Linked DNA regions of Homo sapiens: region 1 is linked to region 2. Evidence: promoter capture Hi-C in human tissues and cell types (Jung and others, 2019). All regions are on one chromosome and are shown on one strand. The core of a region is centred on a gene start or on the middle of the fragment in contact, and the rest is flanking DNA. Distances in the headings are between cores, read along the strand shown.

Region 1 (5,621 bases), core at 431-2,930, 250 kb after region 2:
TGAGGGATATTGGACTGCAGTTGTCTTTTTGGGATATCTGTCTAGTTTTAATATTAGGTTATTCTGTATTCATAAAGATGAGAAATGTTTCTCTTTTTTTAATAGAAATATCTTTTTCTTTAACTTTGTGTAGAATTGGTATTATTCCTCCTTAAATTGGTGGAATTCACTAGTAAAGCTATCTGGGCCTGGAGTTTTCTTAGTAGGAAGAGTTTAACTGTGATTTCACAGTTAATAGATATAGGGCTATTCAAGTGATCTCTTATTTTCTTTGTGAATTTTGTTAGTGTTTTTTAAGGAATTTGTCCATCACTTCTAAATTTTCAAATGTACTGGTGTGAAGTTATTCTTGATACACCCTTATTAACCTTCTAGTGTCCTTTTTCATATCTGGTACTAGTATTGTATATTTTCTTAATTTTTTTCCTTAATCAGTCTGACTTGAGGTTTATGTATGTTGGTGAATGTTGCATGCACTTGAAAAGGGCATTTTTTTCTACTCTTACTGGGTACGGTGTTCTACAAATGTCAATGTTCTACAAATGTCAATGATATTCTGTATACTTTTTATATTAATTATGAGAGAAGAGAGTTGAAGTTTCCAACTACAATGTGGATTTGTCTGCTTCCCCCCACCCCCAATTTCTATCAGTTGTTGCTTCATGTATTTTGAAGCTTTGTTATTAGGTACATACACATTTAGGATGGTTATTTCTTTTCTTTTTCTTGTTTTTTTGAGTTTCCTTTTGTCACCCGTAATGGAGTACAACAGTGTGATCTCGGCTCACTGCAACCTCTACCTCCTGGGCTCAAGTGATTCTGGTGCCTTGGCCTCTGGAGTAGCTGGGATTACAGGCGTGCACCACCATGGCCGGCTAATTTTTGTATTTTCAGTAGAGACAGGTTTTCGCCATGTTGGGCAGGCTGGTCTCAAACTCCTGGCCTCAAGTGATCCACTCTCCTTGGCCTCCCTTTCAAGTGCATGCAACATTCACCAAGACACATAAACCACAAGTCAGATCCCAAAGTGTTGGGATTACCATGCCTGGCCTAGGATGGTTATTTCTTTTGATGAATTTATACCTTAACTGTTACGAAATACCCTTCTTAATCCTCAGTGGTACTCTTTGTTCTGGAGTCCACTTTATGTGATAGTAATGGAGCCACTCCAGATTTATTTTGATTTGTGTTTTAATGATGTTTTTCAACCCTTTACTCTTGCCCTATTTGCGTCTTTATATTTAAATTGAGTTTATTATAAATGGCATGTCTCGTCTTGTTTTTATCCGTTCTGACAACTTTAATTTCCTTTAACTGGACTGTTTTGCCATTAGCTACATGTGGCTATTTAAATTTGGTTATTTAAATTTGGATTATTAAATGTGGTTATTTAAATTTGGATACAAATTAATTAGAATTAAATAAAATTACAAATTGAGTTCCTCAGTTGTATTAGTCACATTTTAAGTGCTCAGCGCTCAGACAGCACAGATATAGACATTTCCACATGGCAGCATGATGTATTGGACAGCTCTGTTTAGACCATTTATACTCAATGTAATTGTCTATTGTTGGATGTAAATCGGCTGTTTTGCTATTGTCCCATAGCTCATTGATGATTTTTTTCTAACCTTTTTCTCTCTTTGCTTCATTTTTGATAGTTTTTGTTGCTCTGTCTTAAGATTTAGTTATTCTTCTGCTCTAAGATGATGTTATTCTTATCCATTGTATTTTTCATTCCTAAGCTTCTATTTTGTCTTTTTTTTTCCGTTATGCTCAGATTTTCCTTTGTATCATTGAGCACATTTTTAAGATTTGTCTTAAGGTTCTTATCTGCTAATTTTGCCATTCCTGTCATTTTTTTTTTTTTTTTTTTTCTTGAGACAGAATCTTGCTCTGTCACCCAGGCCGGAGTGCAATGGTGCGATCTCAGCTCACTGCAACCTCCACCTCCTGGGTTCAAGCAATTATCCTGCCTCAGCCTCCCGAGTAGTCGGGATTACAGGCACGTGCTACCACGCCCAGCTAATTTTTGTATTTTTAGTAGAGACAGGGTTTCGCCATGTTGGCCAGGCTGGTCTTGAACTCCTGGCCTCAAGTGATCCACCTGCCTCAGCCTCCCAAAGTGCTGGGATTACAGGCGTGAGCCACCACTCTTGGCCTCCTGTCATCTTATGGTATGTTTCTATTGATTGATTGATTTTTTAATTTTTTGAGATGGAGTCTTGTGCCCTGTCGCCCAGGCTGGAGTGCAATGGCGCTATCTCAGCTCACTGTAACCTCCGCCTCCTGGGTTCACGCCATTCTCCTGCCTCAGCCTCCCGAGTAGCTGGGATTACAGGCACGTGCCACCACACCTGGCTAATTTTTTGCCTCTTTAGTAGAGACGGGGTTTCACCATGTTGGCCAGGCTGGTCTCGAACTCCTGACCTAGTGATCTGCCTGCCTCGGCCTCCCAAAGTGCTGGGATTACAGGCGTGAGCCACCGCGCTAGGCCTCTATTGATTTATTTTTCTCCTATATTGGTCATATTTTCTTGCTGCTTTCATGCCTGGTACTTTTTGATTGGGCAGTAGATATTTTGCATTGTCTAGTACTGGATTTTGTTATTCCTTTAAAGAGTGTTTGATTTAGTTATGGTCTGAGGTTAAGTTACCTGCACATTAGCCTGTTCCTTTTGAGACTGGCTTTTAAGCTTTGTTTTGAATGTTTATCTGGGGCTAAACTTTAGCTGTACTATCTAGTTGTGACCCTTTAGAGGACTTTACTATGTGTTACAGGGTTACCATCCTCTAGCTCATGGTGATATGAAGTGTTCCTAGACTTGTATGATCTCTGGTAATTGTTGAGCCAATTGCTTTCCTCTGGTGCTTTCCCAGCTTTGGGGCATCTACACATTGTTATGTGCGGATAAGTACTTGGCCAAACACTCAAAGAGAAACTGTTCAGATCTTTGGAGTGCTCTCTTTGGAGCTCTCTAGTTCTCTGCTCCACAAATTCTAGCCGCCTAGTCCTTCTTGACCTCTGATCTCTGTCTCTTCAATGTGACAGGACTTCTGGATTATGTGACCTCTGTCCTGCAGTCTGGAAACTGCCTTCAAGCAGTAAGTTAGGGCAGTGATAGGGCCCACCTCATTTGTTTCTCTTCTCTCAGGCATCACAACACTGCTCTGCCTGTTGTCAAGTGTCTGAAAACAATTATATTTTGTCTAGTTTTCTAGTTAATGGCGAGATGGTAACTCTAGGAGCAGTTAATTGTCCAGGAGTAGTTAATTATTTTTCATGAGCAGAAGCAGAACTCCATCTTTTCATCTTTTTTTTTTTTTTTTTTTTTTTTTGAGACTGTGTCTTGCTCTGTCACCCAGGCTGAACACAGCTCACTGCACCTGCACCCTTAACCTCCTGGGCTCAAGTGTTTCTCCCAAGTAGCTGAGACCACAGGTGTGTGCCATCATTCCTGGCTAATTAAAAAAATTTTTTCGTGTGTAGAGATGGAGTCTCTTTATGTTGCCCAAGCTGGTCTCTACTGGGCTCAAGTGACCCTCCTGCCCCGGACTCCAAAAGCGTTGAGATTATAGGCATGAGCCACCACATCCAACCCCTTTATCTTTTAACAATGTTTTAAAAATGTGAAAACAGTTCTTAGCTTGTAGGCCATACAAAAACAGGCCATTTCCCAATCTCTGCTTCAGAGTTACTGTAGGATAAAACTCCAAAAGTAGGCTTGGTCAAAAGATACCCATTTAAAATTAGGATATATGTTGTCAAATTGCTCTCCAAAAAGACTGTGCCAATTAATACTCTTGGCAGTAGTATATTGAGAATGTTAAGATGCTTTATTTTTATTTTTTATTAATTTTATTTTTTATTTCTCTGACATTTAGTATTATGTTCAACTCCAACTATAAATATCCCGGCCTCTCCGTTTATGCAGAAGCTTGGCTTTGGTACTGGGGTAAATGTGTACCTAATGAAAAGGTAAGTATAAGATTTCAGATTAACCTTTTTTCATGCAACTATAATTCTACTGTACTTGGAGACAAAGAAGTAGTCTGAAAATTCCAGTATTTAGATTCGGTTGTCTGCTCCTGATCCTGGCTGATGGCTGTATTCCGGTCCCTAGACCCTTTTGTAACTTTGCCTGTAGCTCTGCCTCTGCTTTTCTCCTAGCTTCCTCCTGATGGGTTATTAAAGGGGAAGTCATTTACTTTTTAATTTTTCCTTGGCTTCCATAAGAAGGGGAAGTGGCAGGGGAAAGGGTTCCTTTGTGGTAATTAAACCAGATTCTTCATGAGAAAACCTCAAAGAGGAAGCCAGTATTGGGTGATGTCAGTGACTGCTGTCTTTTCTGCAGCGTTGCCCTCCTAAGATATGCTCTTCTAAAAGAAGTAAAAGATTTTCATTTCTTATGGCATTGTTATTAAGAAGGGTAAATACATGATTTTAAAGTAGGAATATTGTGTTAAGAAAAATGAAATAATCGAACAAGTATGGTGCCAATATAGCTGTCAACAAAGTGTTTTTTTAAATTACTTTTTTATTATTCATATATTTTTTTGAAACAGAGTCTCACTCTGTTGACCAGGCTGGAGTGCAGTGGCACGACCTCCCAGGTTCAAGCGCTTCTCCTGCCTCAGCCTCCTGAATAGCTGGGATTACAGGCGTGTACCATCACACCCAGCTAATTTTTGTATTTTTAGTAGAGACAGGGTTTTGCCATGTTGGCCAGGCTGGTCTCGAACTCTGGCCTCAAGCGATCTGCCCGCCTTCGCCTCCCAAAATGCTGGGATTACAGGTGTAAGCCACCATGCCCAGCCCAAAATTACTTCTTTTAATCATTACTCTGTACCTAGTTTCATGTTTATTAAGTGGCAAACAACTACATCAATATATATTCCTTAATGCATTCTTGGAATCAGTCTAACTAGTCCAACCCTCCGTATCTTAGCTTCATCTAGGTTTACATTGTTTCCAGATAGAAATGCTTTCTTTAATAAGAGGCTAATTAAGAATAATTTAGTAATTATATACAATGGGTATTCCTGAAGCATTTTTGCAGTTTAAACATTTTTTTTGTATGTTTGTATGGTATTGTTTTCTAATTTGTTTTTTAGTGTTAACTCCTATTTTGAAAGAAAAAAATTCTCACAGGTTTATGGCTAGTTTCATTTTTTTCCCCCTTTTTAAAAAAAGTTTTTAAATGTAAAGTGTTTTTAACAAAGTTACACTGTATGTGGTTTAGTCAAAAAGCTTCAAATAGCTGATCTTTTTTTTTTTTTTTTTTTTTGAGACGGAGTCTCGCTCTGTCGCCCAGGCTGGAGTGCAGTGGCGCGATCTCGGCTCACTGCAAGCTCCGCCTCCCTGGTTCACGCCATTCTCCTGCCTCAGCCTCCCGAGTAGCTGGGACTACAGGCGCCCGCCACCACGCCCGGCTAATTTTTTGTATTTTTAGTAGAGACGGGGTTTCACCGTGTTAGCCAGGATGGTCTCGATCTCCTGACCTCGTGATCCGCCCGCCTCGGCCTCCCAAAGTGCTGGGCAAATAGCTGATCTTGAAGAACAGCAGTGCCTGCCTGACCCTACACTCCTCCTGATTCAGCCCTGTCAACCTGGGATTTCTT
Region 2 (5,791 bases), core at 1,992-4,491:
GGCTGGAGTGCAGTGGTACAATCACAGCTCACTGCAGCCTCGACCTCCCAGGCTCAAGTGATCCTTCCATCTCAGCCCCTCAAGTAGCTGGGACTATAGGCATGCACCACCATGCCTGGCTAATTTTTATTTTTATTTTTTGTAGAAACAGGGGTTTCCTTATGTTGCCCAGACTGGTCTTGAACTCCTGGGTTCAAGTGATCCTCCTGCCTCAGCCTCCCAAAGTGCTGACACCATGCCCAGCCTAGGAGTTTTGTCATAAAGAAGTGCAGAGAAATATACTAATACCTGGCAGGGAAATGGAGGTCCAGGGAGTGTTTGTTAAGGTGGAATGAATGACATCAAATCTGTTCACAGATGGGAATAATCCAGTGGAGAGTGAAAGTTTGGTGAATTAGAGAAGAGGAGGAAGTACTCTACATGGTTCTTCAGTTAGAGAGAGGGATGGAATCTGGTGCACAGAGAAGGGATTGGCCTTTAATGGGTGCATGGATAGTTCATCTAGCAACAGGCTGGAGGGCAGAGCACCGGATAGGTGGTTGGGGGTGATGATGAGGCTCTGTGGACGGTCTCATTGCTTCAGTGTTTTCAGTGAGCTCAATGGAAATTCAGCCTGAGAGAATGGAGAAACATCTAACAGGCCTAGCATTCAGGCGTCCAATAGCAGGTGCCAAGGACTACCATAAAGAACCCCAGAGGCTGGACCCAGTGGCTTACACCTGTAATCCCAACACTTTGGGAGGCCAAGATGGGAGGATCGCTTGAGCTCAGGAGTTTGAGTTCAGCCTGGGTAACATAAGGAGACCTCATCTCTACTAAAGTTTTGTTTTGTTTTTGTTTTTCTTTTTTTGTTTTTTGTTTTTTTAAGCTAAGTGTGGTGGCACATGCCTGTAGTCCCAGCTGCTTGGGAGGCTGAGGTGGGAGGATCACTTGAGCCCAGGAGGTTGAGGTTGCAGTGAGCCGTGATAACGCCACTACACTTCAGCCTGGGTGACAGAGTGAGACCCTGTCTAAAACAAACAAACAAAAACAAGCAAACAAATAAAGGAACTCAGGAAGCTTTATTTTTTTATTTTTTGAGATGGAGTCTCCCTTTGTCGCCCAGGCTGGAGTGCAGTGGCCTGATCTTGGCTCACTGCAACCTCTGCCTCCCATGTTCAAGCAATTCTCCTGCCTCAGCCTCCTGAGTAGCTGGGACTACAGGCACACACTGCCATGACCGGCTAGATTTTGTATTTTTAGTAGAGACAGGGTTTCACCATGTTGGCTAGGCTGGTCTCAAGCTCCTGACTTCAGGTGATCTGTCCACCTCGGCCTCCCAAAATGCAGGGATCACAGGTGTGAGCCACTGGGCCTTGCCCCAGGAAGCTTTAAAAATGCTCAAAATTAATTTTAATAATTAAGTAATTTAGTAGCATTTGTGGTTAACTGTTGAAGCTAAGAAATAGCCAGTAGAGGGAGAGCTGAGCACACGTGACATGAATGTAAGCGTAAGGTGTGATTTTGCCTAGAGAGATCAGTATAAGACTCAGCATCCAGGATGGCATTTGTGCTGACTTTCTTTGTTCTGAACTTTAGCCTGGTGTTTCTGTGGTTTTCTTATGGAGGAGGGACGTCATCTTGCCAAAAGTTCAAAGCAGTTTTTAAGACCACAGTCTAAACATTTATCTTCAATTCTTTCCCTGTTCTGACCTCTTTACCTTCTGAATCCCCTCTTCAGACTAAATACATACCTAGAGTACTGAGGGTTGTCTTGGTAATGACTGAGTTGGCCTTTAAAGGTAACATACACCCTTGGCCCAGCACAGTAGCTCATACCTGTAATCCCAGCACTTTGGGAGGCCAAGGTGGGCGGATCATATGAGATCAGGAGTTCGAGACCAGCCTGGCAAACATGGTGAAACCCTGTCTCTACTAAAATTAAAAAAAAAAAAAGTCAGGCATGGTGACGCACCCCTGTAGTCCCAGCTACTCAGGAGGCTGAGGCAGGAAAATCTCTTGAACCCGGAAGACGGAGGTTGCAGTGAGCTGAGACGGCGCCACTGCACTCTAGCCTGGGTGACAGAGCAAGACTGTGTCTCACAAAAAAAAAAAAAAGGTAACACACACCCTGAAGCTGAGGGTTCAAGGGACAACTTTTTCCCTGTATGTGATGTGATGGTTTGGGTTGCCAGACACAGCAAAGTGGAGTGGGTTTTATTTTCTTCTCTCCTGGACAGCACTTTCAAATTTTTGTTTTCTGGGTTTATTAAAAATATGAATTTAAAATTAGATGGGCGTGATGGAGCATGACCATGGTCCCAGCTACCCAGGAGGCTGAGGTGGGAGGATGGCTTGAGCCTGGGAGGTCGAGGCTGCTGTGAGCTATGATCACGCCACTGCACTCCAGGCTGGGTGACAGAGCAAGACCTTGTCTCTAACTAAATAAAGACATAAAAATATACGGATTTAAAATTTAAGTTCCAGAAAGAGGTGTAAAGCGGTATATCACTCATTTCTACACTCAAACAATCCAATGTTGTTTTATTTTTGGCAAATGTTATTTTTGGTGAATTTTAAGACTTTGGGTCAAGAATAACTTTATATTTATTATCTCATATCCTCCATCTCTCCCAGTCATGTCTTATAGTTGGGTGTCGGGGAGCCAGTGCTTTGTCTGTCTTGGAACTGGGGCATTTTTCCTGTCTGCTCCAGTGAACCAGTCATCTGAATATTGTTCACCCTCAGAGAAAAGATGCTGTGGAAGGATGCAGTGATGCACTTGGAAAGGAAAAAAGACATCTGTCTACTTGTAGGAACATGGCAGAGAAGGGTGCAAGATCCCCGTTTCATGTACCATTTAGATTTTTTTTTTTTTCGAGATGTAGTCTTGCTCCATCATCCAGGTTGGAGTGCAGTGGCGCGATCTTGGCTCACTGCAACCTCCACCTCCCAGGCTCAAGTGATTCTCTTGCTTCAGCCTCCTGAGTAGCTGGGACTACAGGGTTCTGCCACCACGCCTGGCTGATTTTTTTTTTTTTTTTGTATTTTTAGTAGAGTCAAGGTTTCACCATGTTGGCCAGGCTGCTGTTGTACTCCTGACCTCAAGTGATCTGCCTGCCTCAGCCTCCCAAAGTGCTGGGATTACAGGAGTGAGCCACCGTGCCTGGTGAATTTAGATTTAAGTGAAAGAAGACAGAATAAATCAGTATCTGTGGGAGGAGACCATGGTAAATAGCTCCCTGATGGCAAGTTGGTTTCACTTCTGCTGTGTAAACGTGGCTTTGTGATTGTGGCCCAAAGGGCTACGTACCCCAGCTGGTTCCAAATACCTGAACCAAGGAGAAGCTGCCACCATCTCCTCTGTGGACTCCTGTAACCAAACCAGAACTTTTTTTTTTTTTTTCTGTTCAGTGACATCTGGTAAGTTGTTTCTTTTATGTAATTTGTACTGTAACTTGTGGTTGATTTTTTAAAAATGGACCTTAATTTTTAGAACAGTTTTGAGTTTACAGGAATATTGAGAAGATAGTTTAGAGCATTCCCATGTAATTCCCACCCAACTTCCCCATTATCTTGTATTAGTGTGGTACATTTGTTACAACTGATGAACCGATACTGATACGTTATTCTTAAACTAAAGTCTGTGCTTGATTCAGATTCTTGGTTTTTATCTAACGTCTGCTTTCTACTGTGGCATCCTATCAGGATAGCACATTATATTTAGTTATGTTCCCTTAGGCTCCTCTTAGCTGTAGCGTTGTTTCTCAGACTTTCCTTGTTTTTGATGAATATGGCAGTTTTGAGGAGTACTGGTTGGGTATTTTGTAGGCTTCTCCTATTGGCATTTGTCTGATGTTTTTCTCATTATTAGACTGGAGTTATGGGTTTTGGGGAAGGAGTCCCAGAGTTAAAGTGCTGTTCTCATCACATCATATCAAGGGATAATATTGTCAACATGATTTAGGACTGTTGGTGTTGACCTTGACCACCTGGTAGAGGCAGCGCTTGTCTGGTTTCTCTGCTATAAGGTGATCCTTTCCCTGCTCCAATCTCCGCCGTGTTCTCTTTGGAAAGAAGCTGCTATGCACAGCACACACTTAAGGAGCAGGGAGTTTTATTCTACCTCCTTGAGGATGGAGTAGCTACGTAAATTATTTGGAATTCTTCTGTATATGGGACATTTGTCTCTTCTCTCTCCTTTGATTTTCTTAAAGCAAGTTATTTCTTGAGGGAAAGTGAATTTTACTTTTCTGTTTGCTTAAGTGAATTTTGGGGGTTTGGTTTGTTTGTTTTTGAGGCTTCGGTCTGTTACCCAGGCTGGAGTGCAGTGGTATGAACATGGCTCACTGTAATCTTCACCTTCTGGGCTCAAGTAATCCTCCTGCCTCAGCCTCCTGAATAACTGGGACTACAGATACATGCTGCCATGCCCAGCTAATTAAAAAAAAAATTGTAGAGATGAGGGTCTCACTTTGTTGCCAAGGCTGGTCTCAAGCTCCTGGGCCCAAGGGATCCCCTCTCCTCTCAGCCTCCCAAAGTGCTGGGATTACAGGCATGAGCCACCATGCTCAGGCTGTTTAAGTGAATTTTAAGGCTATGTAAAAAGGCCAGTGGGCTAGAAATGGGGAGAATCAGGTTTTAGTTTGAATTTTACAGAACAGTGTGATCTTAGGCAAGTCATTAATCATTCCTCCCAAAAGAAAACAGCTATTGCAGAAATTGCTGGCAGGTGTATGAATTCCTGATAAGGAGGGAAGTGTCATCTTATGCCTCATTAGCTTTAACAAGCTTGGGAGAGCAATATGAGAAGATTCAAATTCGTTTCGCTAGAATCTGCTAAAGTACGTTATGAAAATATCTGCTTATTTTGCTTACCTCTTTACCTAGGGAAGAAAGATGGAGAAAAACATGTCATCCTAAAGCCTCCCTTCTACTACGACTGCTTCTGGTGGCCACATTTCTAATTCTGAACACATTAGCCGATGTGTTAATGCTGAAAACATACCTCTTTTCCTTTAGAGATTTGGAGGCCCTTGTTTCACTTTTGCTTCTGAGCTAATGTGTTTAAATTGCTGCCTTGGGACATCCCTAGTTTGGAAGAGCAGTGCAGTGGCCAACGAGGTGGTTAGGAAATGTTGCCAACACCAAAGTTACTTAAACCTAAACCCAAACTCAAAGAGAAAGGAAATAAATTCTAAATTTCATCAACATTCTATCATTTCATTAACAGTCTCCTCCTCTTCCTTCTTTCATTCTTCAGCTCACCTTCTTGTGAGAGCAAGAAAAAACTTGACCAAAGATTGTTTTTTTTTTTTTTGAGATGGAGTCTCACTCTGTTGCCCAGGCTGGAGTGCAGTGGCATGATCTCAGCTCACTGCAACCTCCGCCTCCCGGGTTCAAGCGATTCCTCTGCCTTAGCCTCCTGAGTAGCTGGGACTACAGGCATGTGCCACAACGGCTGGCTAATTTTTTGTATTTTTAGTAGAGACAGAGTTTCACCGAGTTAGCCAGGATGGTCTCAAACTCCTGACCTCATGATCTGCCCGGCTCAGCCTCCCAAAATGTTGGGATTACAGGTGTGATCCACTGCACCCAGCTGATCGAAGATTCTTTAAGGAAGATGGTAGAGCATCCTCAATGTGTTTGATCAATAGGGACAAGAACGGGAGTCAGAATCTCAGCTAAGGTGGCATCTGTTCCCCAAAGACTAACAGACGTGGCCTGGATGACACTAGTACTGATTTCTAGTTTAACTACCTTCATAAAATATTCAAAAAATAACATTTGTACAGATGCATAAGTGCCTGCA

What was found. Contacts are between HindIII fragments. The study calls those that stand out against the background at their distance.
Region 1: a contact is called between a fragment that was not itself captured here and the fragment with the promoter of NUGGC in region 2, in 1 of the 25 tissues and cell types used here (adrenal gland).

The regions. Positions count from the first base shown.
Region 1 is chr8:27,826,462-27,832,082 of GRCh38, reverse strand. It overlaps PBK (PDZ binding kinase), which reads left to right. Exons shown (of 8, transcript NM_018492.4): 3 at 3,885-3,978. Among named protein-coding and RNA genes, the nearest start is that of PBK, 8.5 kb to the left of the region's middle. RefSeq lists a silencer at 3,945-4,145. The HindIII fragment of the contact is 5,828 bases long and covers 1-4,594 here.
Region 2 is chr8:28,081,386-28,087,176 of GRCh38, reverse strand. NUGGC (nuclear GTPase, germinal center associated) reads left to right here and starts at 3,241. Exons shown (of 19, transcript NM_001010906.2): 1 at 3,241-3,402. The HindIII fragment of the contact is 5,516 bases long and covers 1,215-5,791 here.